4 separate regions of the Homo sapiens genome follow, and regions 1, 2 and 4 are each linked to region 3. Evidence: promoter capture Hi-C in human tissues and cell types (Jung and others, 2019). All regions are on one chromosome and are shown on one strand. The core of a region is centred on a gene start or on the middle of the fragment in contact, and the rest is flanking DNA. Distances in the headings are between cores, read along the strand shown. Region 1 overlaps DSCR8 (Down syndrome critical region 8). Region 2 overlaps DSCR4 (Down syndrome critical region 4). Region 3 holds the start of KCNJ6 (potassium inwardly rectifying channel subfamily J member 6). Region 4 has its middle 72 kb from the start of DSCR4.

Region 1 (2,775 bases), core at 108-2,607, 240 kb after region 3:
ATTTGAATAGTATGAAATCAATTATGCAGAGGAAAAGTACTTGACTATTGATAGGAAGAAGGAATGCTGTATTAGGAGTCAGGAGACATAGCTCAGTACTTACTCAGTATGTGACTTTCAACAAACAATTGTTCCCCTCTAAGCCTCAGTCTCCTGAGTTGTAAAATGAAAGAATGACACTGGATCCTGTTTCTAGGTTCCTTTGCACTTTCAAAATCTTTAAGAATCTTTTGTTGTTGTTGACAAAAGGATTTAAAGAGTAGGGACAAGTGACCATCCATAAGTGATGAAAAGAAAAGTTAACCCAAGAGATACATAAAGTGGGGAAGCAGCAGAGTTACAGTTGGAGAAACCAGGGAGTGAAGTCGAGGTGTGCCACATTCCCTCTAGATGACTCTTGAAGGGTTGGGTTTCTCTTCTGTAAAACAGAGACCATAGCTCAGAGGTTTGTTATAAGGATTAAATGAGATAATGCATAAAACATGCTTCCAGGAATAAAGAATCATGGAAGTGAATAAGGAAGAAAGGAGATGGAGGAAGAGGAGGAAGAGAAAATGACTTAGAAAATGTGTGATTAACTAAGTAATTAATCCTTCTAAAACTTTCACATTCAGCCAAAGCACATTTGTGCATACAACTCTCATTTGTCTACCTTGGAATAATCAATTTTGTGAGTTATTCACAGAAGATGAGTGAACTCAGCCAGGTTTTCTAATACTCTGCTACCTTCTTGTTCACCTATTTTCTGACTAGGAGGCATGTAACTCAAGTTTTCATCAGCCTAAGCCCAACCACATTTTGGAGACATGTCTGCATCACAAATTATCTTGGGCTTTCAAAAATCAAAAATAAACCACTTTACCAAAAATCAATCCCACTCCATCACTTTGGTTTCTCTGTGCCTTGTGCGCCATTATTGGCATGAGGAGTTGTGAGCTAACCGTGCCACATTTTCAGGAGCCTTTGTGCCATCCTGTTTCAGCCCTTGACAGGTGCTCCTGCGGGGTTCTCAAGCTTTCCTTTTGATTTCCCCAGGATATTATCATTGTGGCTGGTCAAGGGAGGGGACATCCTGAGAAAATCAGCCAACAGTTCCTCCTGGAAAATCCAAGCTCTCTGATTAGAGGGGCAAGAAATCCAACTGATATGTATTTAAGCACTTTTATAGAATTCCCGCTATGTGCCAGGTGCACATAGTTCCTAGGTAATAGGATGCAGCAGCCAACTAGCTGACCAAGTCCTCTTGAAGCTAACATTTTAGTGGAGAATGTAGATAACCCCTCAAAAAATTAATAAAGAAGAAATAAAATTTTTGATAATGGGATGTATTATGAAGAAAAATAAAAGCAGGGGAAGGGGCAGTGAAAGTGATGGGGTGGTCTGGAAAGGTCGATCTGAGGAGGTGATTTTTGAGATCTGAATGCAGTGGGAGAACAAGCCATGGGGAGGAATAGAGAAAAAGCAATGGAGGCACAGAAAATATTAAATACACAGTGGGTGGAAACAAACAATTAACTTGGCCAGTGCAGCTGGAACAGGGTAATGGTTGAAGGACGGAGCCCATTCAGGTAGGCAAAGGTTGGAGTTTCAAGACCTTGTCAGCTAAAGTAAGGGGTTTGGATCTTATCAGAATTGAGATGGTAATCTATTGAATGGTTTTGAGTTGGAGAATGATGCAACTTATTTGCATATTAAAAAGATTACTCTGACTAACATATTGATAACAGACTGTCATGAGACCAGAGTGGAAGCTGGTTAGTAGATGACTGAAACTGTTTAGGAGAGAGAAGACCGTGCATTTCACTAGAGTAGTTATAGCAGGGGTAGTGTAGAATAATGGGATTCAGTACATATTTTGGAGAAAAATCCAGCCTGACTTTTCGCTGTGTTTATGTGGGACGTAAAGGGAAAGAAGGAGTCAAGGATAACTGCTAGGTTTCTGTTTTTAGCGACTGGGTAAATGGTGGTGGTGTTAACTGAGGAGATGAGGTGCTGTATCAGTGAGGACTCATGCAGGAAAAAAGGAACCACTCCAGGTGTATTAAGTATGAAGTGGTTTAATAAAGGGAATCGAGTGCTTTCAAAAGCATTGGATTAGCTGAGGAAACACAAGTTAGAGAAGGTGCCCGGTAGTATTTAGTTCTGCTGTCACTGCTTGGGCCAGTGAATTCAGAAGTTGTTGCTACCACTCAGATGAGGAAAGTAAAGGAAAACTAGTGCTGCCCTACAGCACTGAGAAGAGTAACTGGAATGGATCACCCAGAAGCCACCGCAAAAACTCTTGTCTGCCAAAGCTTTCGTGTCCTACATTGATGCATGGGGAAGAAGAGTATGTTCTGTGCTCTTTCATCTTTGAAATCTCTCACTAGTGCACCTCATTAGCAGAATATAGCTGCAACCAGAAACTGAAAGGCAGAAGAATCTGACAGATAAAGTTTCCAGCCTTTCAGCTGGCATTGCAAAAGAAAGCATATAACACAGGACAGAGGAGAGCAATAGAATCTTGTAGGCTAAGGGACAGATAATAAAATATTTGTATTGTTATGTCATAAATCTGTGTGTCTATCGGACATCCAAGCAGAAGTGTCAAGTAGGAAGTAGAATACACAAGTCCAGGAATCATGGGAAAGGTCAAGGATGGAAATATAAATTGGGGAGCCATTAGAACATAAATGGTAATTAAAGGCATGCAAGTGGAGAGTATTACCTAAGGAGTAAGTGTAGATAGAGAAAGGTCTTAGAACTGAGCTCCATATGCTTCGGGAAAAACTTGGA
Region 2 (2,700 bases), core at 89-2,588, 200 kb after region 3:
AGGATCTGCTGCACAACATTCTCATCAGCATTTGGTGGTGTTTATGTTTGGGATTTTGGTCATTCTAATGGGTGTGTAGTAATATCTCGTTTTAATTTGAAAGTCTCTAATGATGTTGAGCATCTTTCCACAAGCTTATTTTCCATCTGTATATCTTCTTTGGTAAGGTATCTGTTGAGATCTTTTGCCTATTTTTTAATTGGACTGTTTGTTTCTTACTATTGAGTTTTAAGAGTTCTTTGTATATCTTAAATACTAGCCTGCATCTGACATGTGTTTCACAAAATCCTCCCAGTCTATGGCTTATTTTTTCATTCTCTGAACAGTGTCATTTACAGAACAGAAGTTTGAAATTTTAACAAAGTCCAACTTATCAATTTTTTTATGGATTGTGCTTTTGGATTTAAGAAGTCATTGCCAAATTCAAGGTCATTGAAATATTCTCCTATTTTACCTTCTCAGCATTTTACAAGATATATTTTTAATTAAAAACAAATAGATGCTCTGAATCAGTCATGGTCCCCACAAGGATTTTTAATAGAAACTGTAAGGAAAAGACAACTTACAATGGGCTTGGTAAGGTTAAGGAAATATATAAGGGATAATGCTTGCAACCATGATAAGCTGTCATCACCCAGGTCAAAAGGAAAAAAGGGAGGAGCTAGTGCTGGGACCCAGTGTGGAGGCTATGGTGAAGAAGCTATTATTGTGAACTCCACTACTACTATAGGTTTCATACCTAGGCAAGAAGAGCATGTAGTCCTCATAAGTTGATAGATATAAGAAAGGGGGCTGGGCGCGGTGGCTCACGCCTGTAATCCCAGCACTATGGGAGGCTGAGGCTAGCGGATCATGAGGTCAGGAGATCGAGACCATCCTGGCTAACACGGTGAAACCCCGTCTCTACTAAAAATACAAAAAAAAAAAAAATAGCCAGGCGTGGTGGCAGGCACCTGTAGTCCCAGCTACTCGGGAGGCTGAGGCAGGAGAATGGCGTGAACCCGGGAGGCGGAGCTTGCAGTGGGTCGAGATCGCGCCACTGCCCTCCAGCCTGGGCAGTGAGAGCAAGACTCCGTCTCAAAACGAAAAAAAAAAAAAGGAGCCCTAACTGGCAGGAACAGGAGCAAGGATGGGGGAGAGCCATCATTCTAAGAAATGGCTGACAAGCCATCGTTCTGAGAACTGGTTAACCAACAACAACCCACTTGCACAACACCCTGTTCCCAAATACCTTGTTTTGCACATAGACCCAGCAGCATGACCTTATCAGCACGTACCCTCTCCAGCACAAGCCTATAAAACTTCCCTCCAGCCCCTGACTCTTCGAGACAACCTCCTCTCTGCTGTGCACCTCATTGTTCTCTTGCAGTGTATCTTCGTACTTTCTACAATAAATCTGCCTTTCTTTATCCATGACTGTCTTGGTAAATTCTTTCACTGCCTGCAATGCTGGACCCAGCCAGTCACACCAGCAGCATTTTGGTGGTCCATATGGAGACCTCTCCCCTGTTCACTGTTTTTTCTCTTCTCCAACTCCAACCTCTTAGTGGACAGCATCCAAGCCTGGAGACATCTGATGGCCCCCCACTGCAGCTACTCCCTGGTGGATCAGAAGGTCCCAGTGGAAAGAAGTTTGACCGTCACTGCCCGATCGAGTGAGAGTTTAGAGTTTACTTTCCTTTCCCGTCTTCTGGTGGACAAACTCTAGTATCCCTCTAGCAGCTGATGGCCACTGGCCAGGGCCATTCCCTGGTGTGGCCTAAAGGCCAAGGAGTGAACCAGGTTTGGCTGCCTTGCTTGGAAGGGAGGATGGCTCTCTCCTAACCCTTCTGGTCAAAAGTCCCCAGTCCCTACATGCAGCACAATAGGCAGCGGCAGCTTGACCAGGGCAAACGCACACACATTTTGGGGAACTCAGACCCCGTCCTTCTCACTCTAAATTTCTCCTGTGAAGAAAGCCAGCCATCCTTTTCTGGACATTTTAAGCAACATGATCCCAAATAGCACCAGAACAGTGAGCCTTCCCTCAACCTTTGCCCCTTATACCTGGATTCAGCACCCAGTATAATTCATACGTGGACTGACCTGGGGCTGCTCACCCTGTGTTCATCCATCCAGTGTAAGGCTCTCATGCTGGGAGGTCCTTTCTAATAGGTGGGATGCCCCTTTGGAAAGTGCCTCTCAAGGCTCCTCAGTGGACATAAGTGGAACCCCCTTTCCTTGGCTGGAGGCCCCAAGAGAAATTGTGGTTTGTGTCCCCAGTAGACATTATTTTCCAATCCCCCCATGGGACAAAGCCCTTCCATTCTCTCAGACTCACCGATGGGCTGCATTCTAAAACATTGGGATAAACTTGACTCCCAGACTCTCAAAAGGAAACATCGAATTTTCTTGTGTAATACAGCATGGCCACTTTATAAACTTCCAGATCAGGAATCCTACTGGCTTCCAAATGGGACCTCTGCCCCCAGTAGTATTTTATAGGTTGACCTCTTTGGTCATAATTCTTCTAAACGGCTTGAGATTCCTTATATCTGAGGTTGTGTAACTCTTTCTAAGTTTGCTCTCCTCTCCCTTACATGGTTCCTTCCTTTACTAGGACAGCTGCATTTATACTTCTACTTCTCCTCTTCAGTCCTTTGTCTCTTTAATTTACTGGTTAAATTTGTTTCTTCCAGAATGTAGCAATTCCACAGCAAA
Region 3 (2,700 bases), core at 193-2,692:
GTTTCTATTAAGATATATTTTCCCCCTGACAATCTCTCCATATTGCACCTAGTACAACAGATGTACCTGTGGATCCACTGGGCTTTTATTGGGTTTTGGGAATACTGATGTTATTTCACTTAAAAACTAATCCAAGCTTAATGTTTTGATGAAAATGAAAATATATCCACAGGGAAGCAAATATCCACAGCCACCCAGTCCTCTAAATGCCACACACATCTCATTTTATCTAAAGTGTTTTTTCTTCCCTTCCAATTACAAAATAATTCAGTTTACTCCTAGGAAGATCTTCCTATTCACTGTTTTTAGTCATGCTAGCACATCTTCGGTTTTAAGGATAGAGAACAGTTAGGAGTTACAGTATTCTGTTTCCCATTCTCCGCATGTTTCTCCCCAACCCTCACTTTTCCTCCCTTTCGTGTTGTCTCCTCTCCTCTCCATGCAAAGCAGAACAAGAAGACTGCCTTCCACAAAGACAATAGGCTTTTCCCAACTGTAAATGACTACATCACAAGCCGCACCTGTCAGTTAATCAGTGCATTTAAGTCTTTGCCAGCGGATGTTGAAATGATGTCTGCAATAACTGACTGGGTTTCTGCGAGCCCAGGGATGCAGACCCCTCCTTCCCCCGCCCCCCGTGCGAGTTTCAGTCGCTAATGAAAACCGTATGAAACAGATTCCCCTTCTGTTATGTAACCGGCTTCTCCCTCGCCTTTCGGCTGACTTGGGCACAATGTTTCTCATGAGAGTGGAGATGCCTGCGGCGACGGCGGAGCTGGGGAAGGGGACGCGGGGACCCGAGAGCACGGAACGCCTCGCCCAGGTGGACGCCAGCTCCTCGCCTGCGAGCAGCTCAGCGCACCGCTTACCTGGCTGCGGACGGGGTGGCTTCACTCAATCATGATCTCCTCTCTTGAAACGGAGCAAGACTGAACAATTCACTACACGACGGATGGCGAGGGAAGGAAATGCAAAAAAGAAAAGGAAAAGAAAAAAACTGGAATCAGATGGTCAAATTTCACATCAGCACCGAGAGGCTGTTAGGAGACTCCATTCTGCTCGCGGCTGCTCCGGCTCCAGGTCCGGCTTCCCGGCGTCCGCGGGTCTCCACCCCTCCGCCCGCCCAGCCTCTCCAGCCAGGTGCGGCCGTCTCCGGACTGGCTCCCTCTGGCCGAGCGCGGAGAGCAGGGCTGGGCGCTGGGGCCAAGGGAGGGGCGGAGGGGCGCGCGTTTGGGCAGGGACGGGGGAGGGAGACTGGGTGGAATGAAGTGGGGAAAGATAAGAGTGGCAGAAGAAAAAAAAAATCCCCGGTTAGGAGAAAAGTGGTGGACCACGCAGAGAGACGTCATGAAATCCGCAGATTCAATGAATGCTACTCAATTCCAGCCGACTGGCTGAGCCCCGCTGGCAGCGCACGAAGCGACGCGGCTCCGAGATAAAAGCGAGTGCAGCGCCGCGTGCTGGGGAAAAAGCCGCACAGCGCCGGCGCGGTCCGGGAGGAAGGGGCGGGGGCGAGCAGGACAGAGCCACAGACCCAGAGACGCCCACCCCGCCGCCCATGCCAGCTAGCGTGTCAGCGCGTCGAGGACCGGGCTTGGTGGGGGCGGGCTGGGCACAAACCAACGTGCATCCCCCGCCACTGGAAACGTGGGTGCTCCATGCTGGGGGAATCTTTTGGGTTTCGGTCCCCGACCCCCCAGTCCCAACCTTTCTCCCAGTGCCACTAAGTAAGTTATTCCCGGAGAAACGCCTGGAAAGCAGGAAAGAGCCGAAGCTCGGGGAGCAGTTTTGTCTGCTGGTTGTAGGGGTTCGGCTTTTAGGGTTTTGTGAGATAAGGAAAAAGAGGCTCTGGGCACTGCCTCCCACCGGGCTGAAATCCGTGAGAGGCAGCCCCGGCGCGGGAGCCGGAGCCTGCACCGCCCAGAGGGGGCGCAGCGAGCGGCCGGGACGGAGGGGAGGGGCCCTATCCCTGAGCTTTGCTTGCACCTGGTGGCGCCCCAGCCTGCTGCCCCATTCAGTCCCTTCTGTCCTGTCCACTGCAACTGGGACCTGGTCCCGGCTGCTGCATCATCACCCCATCCTTATATGATGTCTCTGGGGTCACTGGAGACAAAGAATGGCCTTTTCCAAGAATGACCCAGGCTGCCTTCAAAGTTGAATTTGTCAGGATAAGCCCCTTAGACAAAGGTCTACTCCACTCTTTGAATCTAACTTGCTTTGTGCTGTTATTCCAGGGGCCCCTCATAGTGCTCCCCTCTTGCACCCCCTCTTTTTCTTATGGTCATCAAAAACAATGGTTCTACATTTCCAAAGTCTTCCCATAAATTGCTTCTACCTATGAACAGAACTCTCTTTTATGCTGTCTTTTTCCTAGGGATGAATGGATTGACAAATTGTAAGAGTAGCGAATACCATTGGCTAGTAATTTTATAATGGCCCTTTCAATAACTGGCTATTCTTGTGCTGCTTTATGAAGTGGCTTTCCTTCCACAAGGCACAGAATCTCTACCTCAAAGAAGGTGACCTTATTTTAGAGAGAAGGCTTACGGAAACCTCTTATTTCCAAGATTATTTTATTCTACATACATACATTTTAATTACCTAGCAATTCAGGTCCCCTCAAGAATGCTGTCTGCCCTCTAAAAATGACTGTAATATGGAGAGGTGTTTGTGTCAATTTGCATCCAAAGTCATGTAAAA
Region 4 (2,700 bases), core at 201-2,700, 130 kb after region 3:
CTCTTAGAAATATGGGCGTTTTTAACAAGTGGTTGCCTGACTGCTAAGCAAACACACTGAGATAATTTCTCTGAAAAGAGAGCTCATTGTTAAACACGGACACTTCTGGCAGTATTCCTGCTAATCCATCCCTGTTCACTGTGTCACTGTGCCAGCATCATGTGGACATAAGAATGGATGCCATAGCTGTCCATTATTTCTGACATCATGGCAATATGTTGGGTGGAAAATAGTAGTTATTTCTTCAACACGTGAAGAATAATCATCAATAGTATTATTCCAGCAAGAGATTTAGGTGAGGTGGAAAAGGATTGGCCCACACTTCTCTGCCCTTCTCTCCATGGCATAAATAATGGTGTGTTCCAGGGAAATTGTTTGAATGCCGCAGGGTACTTCTGGAAACCTAAACTTCTGAAATAATGCTGCATAACTTCAGAGGTGGGTAAGAAAAGGCCATGCTGAGATTGACTTGCTAAAGAAGTTACACGTGGGTGTTCTGGCTAACAGCCCAGCTGACCTGGCTGCAGCCACATGTAAGAGCTACCTTGAGCATCCAGCTTAGTTGAACTTTCAGGCCCCACTGGCAACTGACTGTTTCCATACAAAAGACTCCAAACCAGAACTGCCTAGCTGAGTCTTTCCTGAGTTCCTGAACTACAAAATCACAGGAAAAATAAAATGGCCACCATTTTAATCCTCTGCATTTTGGAGTAACTTTTAAACTTGGCAATGATGATTGAACTGATGCTTTAAAAATTAAAATGTAAGTATTGTAGAAATAAAAACATTAGAAGAAAATCTAGGAGACTAAAAATACAATCTAGGAATTCAGGAGATTTTAAGTGAGTTAAAATATCCAGACTGGATTTATGTAGATATATACACGTATATGTATTTATTATATGTATATACACACATGTATGAAAACATATATGTGGCCAGGTGCGGCGGCTCACGCCTGTAATCCCAGCACTTTGGGAGCCCAAGGTGGGAAGATCACGAGGTCAGGAGTTCAAAACAGCCTGGCAAACATGGTGAAACCCTGTCTCTACTAAAAATACAAAAATTAGCTAGGCGTGGTGGCATGGGCCTGTAATCCCACCCACTTGGGAGGCTGAAGCAGGAGAATTACTTGAACCGGGAACCTGGGAGGTGGAGCTCGCAGTGAGCCGAGATCAGTGAGCCGAGATCACGCCGCTGGACTCCAGCCTGGGCTACAGAGTGAGACTCCGTCTCAAAAAACAAAACAAAACACAACAAAAAACCATACATACATATTTAACATATATTTGATATCATAAAAAATTAAAAACTTTATAATGATATCTATTATAATCAGATTAAAGGAGCTATGGATTTGGAAAAATATATACTCAAAAAAGCCTTAGATTAATAAGAAAATAATGAAATAGAAAATTGGGCAAATAATATGAATAAGAAGTTTACAGAAAATCCAACTCAAAGAAGCATCAAATATAAGGGTAAAAATACTCAAATTCACTAGCAGTTAAAATAATAAGACACAACTTTAGATTGCCCAACAATAGAAATGAAGAGCCCCTATATGGTTGAGAATGTGAAGTGGGTACACTTGACATAGCCAATGGAAATATGAGTTGGTCCATTCTCTTTGGATCAAGATCTGGTGAGATCTATTAAAATTAAAAACCATATGCTCTTTAATCACCAAGCCCAGTATTAGGAAACTATCCCAGAGACAAAAGCTCACTACGTAGGGACAGAAGTACACAGATAGTTAATGTAACTTTGTCTCAAGACATGAAGATCAAGTGAATGCCCATTAAGCAAGAAATGGCAGAATAAGCTATGGGTATAAGCACAATGTGAAATCGTATGCAGTTATAAACTATTAAAAAACCAGTAAGGGCAATGGCAGTTGACTTTCAGGAAACCAACTCCAAGTGTCATTGCTGAATGAGAAAAGCAAGGTTCGTGGGTGTGTGTACAATGTGATTGCATTCAAAGCAAAACAAAGACCATGAAACAACTGTGTACGTGTTTGTATATGATTAAATGAACATGGAGAAAAACACATAGGGAGATATGACGGGGTGGGAGAGGCAAGCAAAAAATGTAAAGTGTACACTGAAAATACTAAGCACATACAGTATGACTACCTTCATATAGAATTACGTATGTGTATGCAGATGCATAAGTGAGGAGATAAAATATAGATCTATATTCACTTACCAATTAAGAGTTTTTGATATATTCATTGAAAACCAGTTTGAGAAAGACAAACAAAAATCCTGAAAATGTGTATAAATACTTGTAAATGATTTATAGGAAAAGGAAAAACTGTGGCTGAAGAATGAGCTATTAACATTAGGCCCCCAGGATGGTGAAGCTGGAGAGCAGTCTGGGGAAGAAGATTCGCTTAAAAAAAAATCTTTGCATTGCTCTAGTTACTCCAACAATTATGCATTACTTCTGCTATTTGAAAAAGTAAATCCAATGCCAAGACTTTGAGTATTGCCAACTTTCCGTAGCTATTGGTGACATTGCCTGTTTTATAGCCTGCCTCTGGTGACAGTAAATTGAATTTTGATCAGGTAAAAACCAAATTTAAGCCTGCTCTGTGCACCTGTCAATTACTTGCTTGAAATGCTTTAAATCACTTTGCTTGAAATGCCCCCTGACTTCTGGGGTCCAGTTATACTTGTGGCCATTGGTAAAGGG

What was found. Contacts are between HindIII fragments. The study calls those that stand out against the background at their distance.
Region 1: a contact is called between a fragment that was not itself captured here and the fragment with the promoter of KCNJ6 in region 3, in 4 of the 25 tissues and cell types used here (H1 embryonic stem cells, IMR-90 fibroblasts, mesendoderm cells and 1 more).
Region 2: a contact is called between a fragment that was not itself captured here and the fragment with the promoter of KCNJ6 in region 3, in 2 of the 25 tissues and cell types used here (dorsolateral prefrontal cortex and mesenchymal stem cells).
Region 4: a contact is called between a fragment that was not itself captured here and the fragment with the promoter of KCNJ6 in region 3, in 2 of the 25 tissues and cell types used here (stomach and thymus).

Annotation. Positions count from the first base shown.
Region 1 is chr21:38,151,065-38,153,839 of GRCh38, forward strand. The region is part of intron 2 of DSCR8 (Down syndrome critical region 8); the gene reads left to right. Among named protein-coding and RNA genes, the nearest start is that of DSCR8, 31 kb to the left of the region's middle. The HindIII fragment of the contact is 5,317 bases long and covers 1-2,775 here.
Region 2 is chr21:38,111,956-38,114,655 of GRCh38, forward strand. The region is part of intron 2 of DSCR4 (Down syndrome critical region 4); the gene reads right to left. Among named protein-coding and RNA genes, the nearest start is that of DSCR4, 8.1 kb to the right of the region's middle. The HindIII fragment of the contact is 4,550 bases long and covers 1-2,700 here.
Region 3 is chr21:37,915,015-37,917,714 of GRCh38, forward strand. It overlaps KCNJ6 (potassium inwardly rectifying channel subfamily J member 6), which reads right to left and starts at 1,443. Exons shown (of 4, transcript NM_002240.5): 1 at 870-1,443. The HindIII fragment of the contact is 8,322 bases long and covers 1-2,700 here.
Region 4 is chr21:38,048,402-38,051,101 of GRCh38, forward strand. No RefSeq gene overlaps it. Among named protein-coding and RNA genes, the nearest start is that of DSCR4, 72 kb to the right of the region's middle. The HindIII fragment of the contact is 5,383 bases long and covers 1-2,700 here.